Linked DNA regions of Homo sapiens: region 1 is linked to region 2. Evidence: promoter capture Hi-C in 16 types of primary human blood cells and fetal thymus (Javierre and others, 2016). All regions are on one chromosome and are shown on one strand. The core of a region is centred on a gene start or on the middle of the fragment in contact, and the rest is flanking DNA. Distances in the headings are between cores, read along the strand shown. Region 1 overlaps TESK2 (testis associated actin remodelling kinase 2). Region 2 holds the start of MMACHC (metabolism of cobalamin associated C).

Region 1 (4,881 bases), core at 978-3,477, 130 kb before region 2:
CCAAATTAGTGGCTTGTTGGCACTCTACTCTTTGGAGGGGCTCTTTGCAGAAAAGGGTTTGGGCCCCGACCTAGTTTTCACTGTAGCCCAACAATACTTTTGTGCTGGCCACCGTATGTTTGTTGGTAGGCTCCAAACACAAAGGCTAGCCGACATCCCATCCTGCTGGCTTGGGTTAAGGAAGAAAAGAAAGCTTTGTTACTGCTCTGGGTAATTCCAGAACAGACATCCCAAGAGTGCCCTGTGGGAGGCTTGTGCTCCAAAGAAGCCTCCTGTTCTCAGCTCGAGGATCCACAGCCACTACAAGCGTACATCCGTATATCTGCCAAGGACTGAATTTGCCTACCGCTCCAGGAGGTTCACCAGGGCCTGCCTGACTGAAACAGTCAGTAGTAATGAGCTGACTCAAAAAGAAAAAGGGAACACTAGTTCTAGCCACAGAGTAAAACGTTGTTAATAACCCAAAATATATTTCAGAATATTTAAGTGTTTAACTCTTGGCCTTCATATATGCTTGCTGAATACCCTTCTTCATAGCTTTGCTAATTCTTATTCATCCTCCTTGTTTATTTATTTTCATTTTTTTTATTATTATTATTTTGAGATAAAGTTTCCCTCGTTGCCCAGGCTGGAGCACAATGGCATGATCTCAGCTCGTTGCAACCTCCTCCTCTTGCGTTCAAGTGATTCTCCTGCCTCTGCCTCCTGAGTAGCTGGGATTACAGGCGTGCACCACCACGCCCGGCTTTTTTTTTTTTTTTTTTTGAGACAGAGTCTCACTCTGTTGCCCAGGCTGCAGTGCAGTGGCGTAATCTCAGCTCACTGCAACCTCTGCCTCCCGGGTTCAAGCAATTCTGCCTCAGCCTCCTGAGTAGCTGGGATTACAGGCGTGTGCCACCACACCTGGCTAATTTTTGTATTTTTAGTAGAGATGGGGTTTCACCATGTTGGTCAGGCTGGTTTTGAACTCCTGACCTTGTGATCCACCTACCTTGGCCTCCCAAAGTGCTGGGATTACAGGCATGAGCCACTGCACCCAGCCTAATTTTGTATTTTTAGTAGAGACGGGGTTTCACCATGTTGGCCAGGCTGGTCTCAAACTCCTGACCTCAGGTGATCCGCCTGCCTCGACCTCCCAAAGTGCTGGGATTACAAGCATGAACCACCACACTGGCCCTTATTTATTTATTTGTCACCCAGGCTGGAGTGCAGTGGCGTGATCCCAGCTCACTGCAACCTCCACCTCCAGGGTTTAAGCAATTCTCCTGCATCAGCCTCCTGAGTAACTGGGATTACAGGCATGGACCACCAGACCTGGCTAATTTTTGGTATTTTTAGCAGAGACGGAGTTTCAACATGTTGGCCAGCTGGTCTCAAACTCCTGACCTCAAGTGATCTGACCGCTTAAGCCTCCCAAAGTGTTGGGATTACAGGTGTGAGCCACCACGGCCAGCCACTTATTCATCCTTCTGAACTCATGGAAAGCATTCCTTGATACTCCATCCCATTCTTAGTGCTAGGCTGGGCACAGTAGCTCACACCTGTAATCCCAGTACTTTGGGAGGCTGAGGCAGGAGTATTGCTTGAGCCCAGGAGTTCGAGCCCATTCTTGGTGCCACTTTAGCATCCTGCACATGTTTCTACTATTGTTCATCACACTGTACTATAACATTTATGGCAGGAACTAGGTCCTGCTCAATTTTGTAAGCCCCTTTGTAAAACTCAGTGAAATTGTTGAACAAACAAATACATAATTAAGTGCATTTAAATAAATGGAGGTGGGTTTTAAGTTCCCTCTTTTATTGGAAGCCCCACCCCTCAATTTAATCATTAAAATGTAATTTAAGATATAAAAGAGAAATGTGCTTTTAGAGGAACTTTCCAATAAATATCATGCAAAAACAAATATTTAATAATGCTGGCTGGGCGCAGAGGCTCATGCCTGTAATCCCAGCACTTTTGGAGGCCAAGGTGGGCAGATTGCTTGAGCTCACGAGTTCGAGACCAGCCTGGGTAACATGGCAAAACCTTGTCTCTGCAAAAAATACAAAAATTAGCTGGGCATAGTGGTGCATGCCTGTAGTCTCAGCTACTCAGGAGGCTGAGGTGGGAGGATGGCTTGAGCTGAGGAGGCAGAGGCTGCAGTGAGCCAACATTGCAACACTGCACCCCAGCCTGGGCATTAGAGCCAGACCTAGTCTCAAAAAATAAATAAAATAAAATAAAATAAAATAAAATGTTTAATAATGCCTACTCAGACAAAGAAAGGCTCAGGCAAAAGACTGAGTCTGATCTTCTACATTGAGGAGACCATGTTGATTAGTGTTATATTCAAAAAAACCAATTCCCAAGTAATGCATACACAGCTGAAAGAAGGAAGTATTCCAGCTGCACCCTCCAAGTTTTCTACATCTCAGTAAACGGCATCGCCACCCACCTAGAAACTGGGCATCATTTGGTTCCTCGTTCTCCTTTTTTTTTTTTTTTGAGATGGAGTCTCTGTTGACTCCGGGTTCAAGCAATTCTCTTGCCTCAGTCTCCCAAGTAGCTGGGATTACAGGCATGTGCCACCATGCCTGGCTAATTGTTGTATTTTTAGTAGAGATAGGGTTTCACCATGTTTGTCAGGTTGCTATCCAAATCCTGACCTCAGGTGATCCACCTGCCTCGGCCTCCCAAAGTGTAGGGATTACAGGCGTGAGCCACTGCATCTGGTCACAAAGCATTTTTTTTTTTTTTTTTTGAGATGGAGTTTCTCTCTTGTTGCCCAGGCTGCAGTGCAATGGAGTGATCTTGGCTCACTGCAACCTCTGCCTCCCAGGTTCAAGCAATTCTCCTGCCTCAGCCTCCCGAGTAGCTGGGATTACAGGTGCCTCCCACCACGCCCAGCTAATTTTTTGTATTTTTAGTAGAGACGGGGTTTCACCATGTTGGCCAGGCTGGTCTCGAACTCCTGACCTCAGGTGATCTACCCACCTCAGCCTCTCAAAGTGCTGGGATTACAGGCGTAAGCCACCATGCCTGGCAAAGCACTTTCATAGTTACCTCATTTGACCATTGAAATTTTTTTTTTTTTTTTTGAGATGGAGTTTCACTCTTGTTGCCCAGGCTGGAGTGCAATGGCGCGATCTTGGCTCACTGCAACCTCCGCCTCCTGGGTTCAAATGATTCTCCTGCCTCAGCCTCCCGAGTAGCTGGGATTACAGGCGCCTGCCACCACACCCGGCTAATTTTTTGTATATTTAATAGAGATGGGTTTCACCATGTTGGCCAGGCTGGTCTTGAACTCCTGACTTCAGGTGATCCACCCATCTTGGCCTCCCGAAGTGCTGGGATTACAGGTGTGAGCCACCACACCCGGCCTGACCATTGTAATATCTTGAAACATTCTTGTCATCTTTTTGTTTTTGTTTTTTTGTGTGTGTTTTTTGTTTTTTTTGGTTTTCTTTTGTTTTGTTTTTCAGACGGAGTCCCGCTCCATTGCCCAGGCTGGGCTGCAGTGGCGCAATCTCAGCTCACTGCAACCTCCGCCTCTGGGTTCAAGCAATTCTCCTGTCTCAGCCTCCCGAGTACCTGGGACTACAGGCGCCTGCCACCACGCCCGGCTAATTTTTGTATTTTTTAGTAGAGACGAGGTTTCACCTTATTGGTCAGGCTGGTCTCGAACTCCTGACCTCAGGTGATCCACCTGCCTCGGCCTCCCAAAGTGCTGAGATTACAGGCATGAGCCACCGCACCCGGCTGGTTGGTTGTTTGTTTTTTGAGACGGAGTTTTGCTCTTGTTGCCCAGGTGTGAGCCACTGCACCTGGCTGGTTTTTGTTTGTTTGTTTTTTGAGATGGAGTTTTGTTCTTGTTGCCCAGGCTGGAGTGCAATGGCGCCATCTTGGCTCACTGCAACCTCCACCTCCTGGGTTCAAGCAATTCTCCTGCCTCAGCCTCCCAAGAAGCTGGAATTACAGGTGTGCGCCACCATGCCTGGCTAATTTTTGTGTGTGTGTTTTTAGTGGAGATGGGGTTTCACCATGTTGGTCAGGCTGGTCTTGAACTCCTGACCTTAAGTGATCCACCTGCCTCGGCCTCCCAAAGTGCTGGGATTATGGGTATGAGCCACCAGGCTGGCCCAGAGAACTTAAATAACTTGCCTATGATTATTCAACTAGTAAATAGTACAGCTTGGATTTGTATCCAAGCCTTGTGACCTAAAAGCCTGGGTTTCTTCTACCCTAGGAGTGTACATTTATGTAGGGAAGCTAAAGCAAAAAAAGCTTTAATAAATGAAAGAATGGGGCTGAGTGCAGTGGCTCACGCCTGTAATCTCAGCACTTTGGGAGGCCAAGGCAGGTGGATCACGAGGTCAAGAGTTCAAGACCAGCCTGGCCAACATTGTGAAACCCCGTCTCTACTAAAAATACAACAAAATTAGCTGGGCATGGTGGTGGGCACCTGTAATCCCAGGAGGCTGAGGCAGGAGAATCACTTGAAACCAGAAGGTGGAGGTTGCAGTTAGCCGAGATTGCACCACTGCACTCCAGCCTGGGCAACAAAAGTGAAACTCCATCTCTAAATAAATAAATAAATAAAAGGAAAGAAAAGAAAGAATGTGTAATAACAAAGGTACAAAAATTCTATATAGGAGAAGATGAATGGAGGGAAACATTATGATCAAATGAGTGGTGGCAGTGGAGGCGGGCAGAGAGGATGCGGCCGAGAAAAAGAATCAGGAAAGGTTTTATGGGGAAATAAGCGGACTCTGAGGCCAGGTCTTGAAGGTAAGATAATTTTTCTTTTTTTTTTTTTGAGATGGAGTCTTGCTCTATCACCCAGGCTGGAGTGCAGCGGTACAATCTCAGCTCACTGCAACCTCCACCTCCTGGGTTCAA
Region 2 (4,883 bases), core at 2,060-4,559:
TTTCTACTAAAAATACTAAAAATATGAAAAAAAGTGGCTGGGCATGGTGGCGGGCACCTGTAATCCCAGCTACTCAGGAGGCTGAGGCAGGAGAATCGCTTGGACTCGGGAGGCAGAGGTTGCAGTGAGCCAAGATTGCGCCATTGCAACACAGCCTTGGCAACAGGCAACAGAGCGAGGCTGGGCAACAGAGCAAGACTCCATCTCAAAAAGAATAAAAATAAATAAAAATAAATAAAAGAAGAAGATGACTTTCCAGAAAAGGGGACAAGGAAACGCATATTCGCCCCCAACCACCTTTTACTTACTCAACTGGTACTGCAGCAACTTCAATTCCTTCTGCATAATCTCTGACTCCTCCCACAGCACTGCAGGAGTGACAGCAGTGCTATTCTAAAGTCAATCAACAAATCCAGAGTAAGAAGGCAAGTAGAGTATCTAGGGTCTTGTGAAACTCTTAGAGAGGATGATCCCCAACTTGTCCCACTACAAATGCCAAAAGTTCAAAGGCCTCAAGAAGGCAAGGCCGCACTCAGTGCTCAATGGCGCCCAGGCTGGAGTGCAGTGGCGTGATCTCGGCTCGCTACAACCTCCACCTCCCAGCCGCCTGCCTTGGCCTCCCAAAGTGCCGAGACTGCAGCCTCTGCCCGGCCGCCACCCCGTCTGGGAAGTGAGGAGCGTCTCCGCCCGGCAGCCACCCCGTCCGGGAGGGAGGTGGAGGGGGTCAGCCCCCCGCCAGGCCAGCCGCCCCGTCTGGGAGGGAGGTGGGGGTGTCAGCCCCCCGCCCGGCCAGCCACCCCATCCGGGAGGTGAGGGGTGCCTCTGCCCGGCCACCCCTACTGGGAAGTGAGGAGCCCCTCTGCCCGGCCACCACCCCGTCTGGGAGGTGTGCCCAACAGCTCATTGAGAACGGGCCAGGATGACAATGGCGGCTTTGTGGAATAGAAAGGGGGGAAAGGTGGGGAAAAGATTGAGAAATCGGATGGTTGCCGTGTCTGTGTAGAAAGAAGTAGACATGGGAGACTTTTCATTTTGTTCTGTACTAAGAAAAATTCTTCTGCCTTGGGATCCTGTTGATCTGTGACCTTACCCCCAACCCTGTGCTCTCTGAAACATGTGCTGTGTCCACTCAGAGTTAAATGGATTAAGGGCGGTGCAAGATGTGCTTTGTTAAACAGATGCTTGAAGGCAGTATGCTCATTAAGAGTCATCACCACTCCCTAATCTCAAGTACCCAGGGACACAAACACTGCCGAAGGCCGCAGGGTCCTCTGCCTAGGAAAACCAGAGACCTTTGTTCACTTGTTTATCTGCTGACCTTCCCTCCACTATTGTCCTATGACCCTGCCAAATCCCCCTCTGTGAGAAACACCCAAGAATGATCAATAAAAGAAAAACAAACCCAAAAAAAAAAAAAAAAAAAAAGAAGGCAAGGTCTTGACTATCCCTTACTCAGTCTGCAGCTCCTGAGGAAGGCCATTGGTAGTACTGCATTCTCCTGGTCCTGTTTGCATCTGGGCTTGGGCTTGGGCTTGGGTTTGCTCCCACACCTGGCTCTGAAGGCCCTGCAGTTCCTTTCTCAGCTCCTCCAGGCATTGCTCCAGGAGAAAAGCACTCCCCTTTGGGGCCCCCTGCAGCAACCTTAGTGATGCTGTAGTGGGACAAGTTAGGGATCATCCTCTCTAAGAGTTTCACAAGACCCTAGATACTCTACTTGCAAAACAAGACACATGTGCACACACAACAGGTGTGTGGCAAAATTGTGTGCATACATATGAAGCTGTGTATATGAAGAAAATAACTGGCCAGATACCTTCCAGGACACTGATCTGGTACTTCTGCTGCTCTCGCTCTTCTAGCAGGCCCTGCACTGCCTGCCTTAGTGCCTGTCACCTCCCCAGGCAGAAAAAAGCACATGAACTACTGTATAACAGCTTTTCCCGACCCCTAGTATCCTCATCTTACACAAACATCACATATACACACCAAGGATTCCAAGCCTCACCTGAGCCTGACATTGAAATTAGGATCAGAGAATAGCAACCTCACCCCAGAGAGAGGATGGGCTCTAGGACTCAGGGCAGCTCAGCCTTTGTGGAACTATGGGAGTCTCTAAAGCCCAAGGCTGTTGAGCTTGGACTCCTGACTGCAGAGGCAAGTGATGAGAGGAAATCCAGGTCCCAGCCAGGTCCCCGGCTGAGGAAATAAGGAAGGGTTAAGTGCAGGGTCTGTGTGGGGAAACAGAGTTCAGGAAAGGACAGAGTTGGAATTTGGAAGGAATAATGGATGATACGGGCACTGGAGGAAGGCACAGAAAGAGAAAGGGCTTGGAAGTAGAAAGAGACATTACTTACCTGCGGTGGAGACCCCAAGAAGATACAGCCACTGCTACAGAAGAAACAGATGCACAGGCCAATGAGCTCTGTGGAGACCCCAAGAGGATACAGCCACTGCTACAAAAGAAACAGATGCACAGGCCAATGAACTCTGAGAGTCCCTTAGCCTCCCCACGCAAACTGGGGACCTCCACCAACCCCTCACCTTATTCCGGACCACATTTCCATCAGTAGCGTTGAGAAGCACATCCAGCTGCTCAAACCAGCTGAGGCTCGTATTCATATCCTGTGGCAGGGGAGCGGCAGGGGTCTGGCTCCCTGGTGTCTTGTGCTTGCTCTCCTAGCGGGGGATACCCAAGGTATCCCCAGGAAAGGCCACCACGTTAGATGGAAAGAGGGAAGTGGGGATGCAACACTGGGGTAGGTGGATGCACTATCAGACCAAAACTGCGATCCTGTGACTAGGGAAAGGAAGGACGCTCTTGGGGAACTGGGGGAAAAGCGGGATACCGTGATGATACGCAGATATCAGGTGGGGATTGAAGGTGCCAGAACCTGGTTGAGACCTCCCCAGAAGTAGTACACTGGCGCCACCACGCCAAACCTGTGCCAGTGACAACTGCCGCCGCCGGGTTCAAAACTTCGGGTTGGTTTTGAAAGTCCGACTTTGGACTGGCTGCCGCAGCGCCACCTGGGAAACTGAGGTCGCCTCTTGCGAACACAACCGGCGATGGAGGCGGTGGAACTACCTTTCTCTAGAAGAGACACGTACATGCACACCCCCACCGTGTAGCTTGCCGGGAAACTGAGTCTTCCTGATTTCGTGTGGCTGTCTCCAAGGAGGAAACGAACTACGCATCCCAAGATGCATCGCGCATAGGCAATATGGTCCCGCTACTGGACCCATTTCCTACCTGGGAAATGGAGTCGAAGCTGACTCAAAACGTAACGGCCCAATTGTCCTTGAGACTTCATTCCCCAGCAAGCTCAGCGTGTAACGTGCGCTATGGAGCCGAAAGTCGCAGAGCTGAAGCAGAAGATCGAGGACACGCTATGTCCTTTTGGCTTCGAGGTTTACCCCTTCCAGGTTAGTTTATCCCTCCTGCTGTTCTAGGGCGAAATATATGATTGGCTTCGTTGCAACTGGCGTGAGGCCTCGGGAGCCTCTGATCCTCCTGGGTTCCTGCAGCCCAGTGTCCATGTGACAACAGGGACAGAGTTTCAGTGGGGGCTTGGGTTAAAAAGGTAGTGGTCGAGGCCGGGCATGGTGGCTCACGCCTGTAATCCCAGCACTTTGGGAGGCCGAGGCGGGCGGATCACCTGAGGTGAGGAGTTCGAGACCAGCCTGGCCAACATGGTGAAACCCCATCTCTACTAAAAATATAAAATTAGCCGGGCGTGGTGGTGCATGCCTGTAATCCCAGCTACTCGGGAGGCTGAGGCAGGACAATTGCTTGAACCCATGAGACGGAGGTTGCAGTGAGCCGAGATTGCGCCATTGCAGTCCAGCCTGAGCAACAAAGAGCGAAACTCCGTGTCAAAAAAAAAAAAAAAAAAAAAAGTTGTCGCATGTTTAACCTTTTGCCACCATATAATGCCGGATTCGTTAACGGGAGACACCATATGACCTGTAGCGTGTGTGGCTCAGATTGTCACCTATATAATTTACAAGAAGAAAGGGACCTGTGAGGCAAAGTCACCTTGGAACTTCCTAAAGGATTTAGGAGAGGGCAAAGCCTAGAAGGTTTGCATAGCTATCATTTAGGTCAGCTGAGGAAGGAAGGGCATTCCTGGTGATGAACAGGCAAACAATTGGCTGGTTTGTTCCCTCTACCAACAGAAGGATAATTCATGATATTTCCAGTCATCAGTGCTGGGCTGGGTAATGAAACTTTGTACACTTGCCTGGCACAGCAGTCTCAGCACCGCACCCCGACCCCCATTTACACGGTTACATTTCCCCACATCAGTGCCCTGTGCACTGAGCAGTTAAGTTACAAAGCTAAATCAGCTCAGCTTGAGCCCTTTGCCTGATGCTTAAGAGACTACCCACTTCCCATTCCTTCTGCTGAGTGGCTCACAGCAGTCCTGGGAGAGGATATAGAGGGAGAAGTAGGTTGGGTCTAGCTTGAGACTGGTCTTGCCAGAAAAAATGGAATTGAGCTATATATGAAAAGATAGATTGGAAGGAAGGAGGGTTATGTACATCCCAAATATCAGAAAAAGCTTGAGTAAAGGTGTGGAGATAGTGGTGTGGTGTTACCAAGTAAAAGGGCTTGATGCCTGATGTGCTGGAAGCTAATATTATGACACTGGGTTTTTGAGAAAACAAAAGCTATTTGTTGCAGATCGACCTTTAACTCTTTGAGACACCGTTTCAGTGGATGGCAGGTGTGTGGGAGAGTGAGAATGCCTATCTGGCAAGTTGAGTAGACCTGGGTATTAGGAGCTTTTGTACTGAACAAAGCCAACTGCAGCCCTGCCAGTCACCCTAGGCTCCTACCTCTCACCTCCCTACCCCCACATCCAATCAGCCACCAAGACCTA

What was found. Contacts are between HindIII fragments. The CHiCAGO score rates a contact against its expected background, and 5 or more counts as called.
Region 1: a contact is called between a fragment that was not itself captured here and the fragment with the promoter of MMACHC in region 2, in 2 of 17 cell types (total B cells and naive B cells). The highest score is 6.1, in total B cells.

Annotation. Positions count from the first base shown.
Region 1 is chr1:45,364,932-45,369,812 of GRCh38, forward strand. All of the region lies in intron 4 of TESK2 (testis associated actin remodelling kinase 2), which reads right to left. Among named protein-coding and RNA genes, the nearest start is that of TOE1, 27 kb to the left of the region's middle. The HindIII fragment of the contact is 4,073 bases long and covers 192-4,264 here.
Region 2 is chr1:45,496,991-45,501,873 of GRCh38, forward strand. It overlaps MMACHC (metabolism of cobalamin associated C), which reads left to right and starts at 3,310. Exons shown (of 4, transcript NM_015506.3): 1 at 3,310-3,423. The coding sequence starts at 3,343. CCDC163 (CCDC163 homolog) reads right to left here and starts at 3,083. Exons shown (of 5, transcript NM_001102601.3): 1 at 2,542-3,083; 2 at 2,355-2,453; 3 at 309-393. The coding sequence starts at 2,619. RefSeq lists enhancers at 3,023-3,555, 3,105-3,304. The HindIII fragment of the contact is 9,755 bases long and covers 1-4,560 here.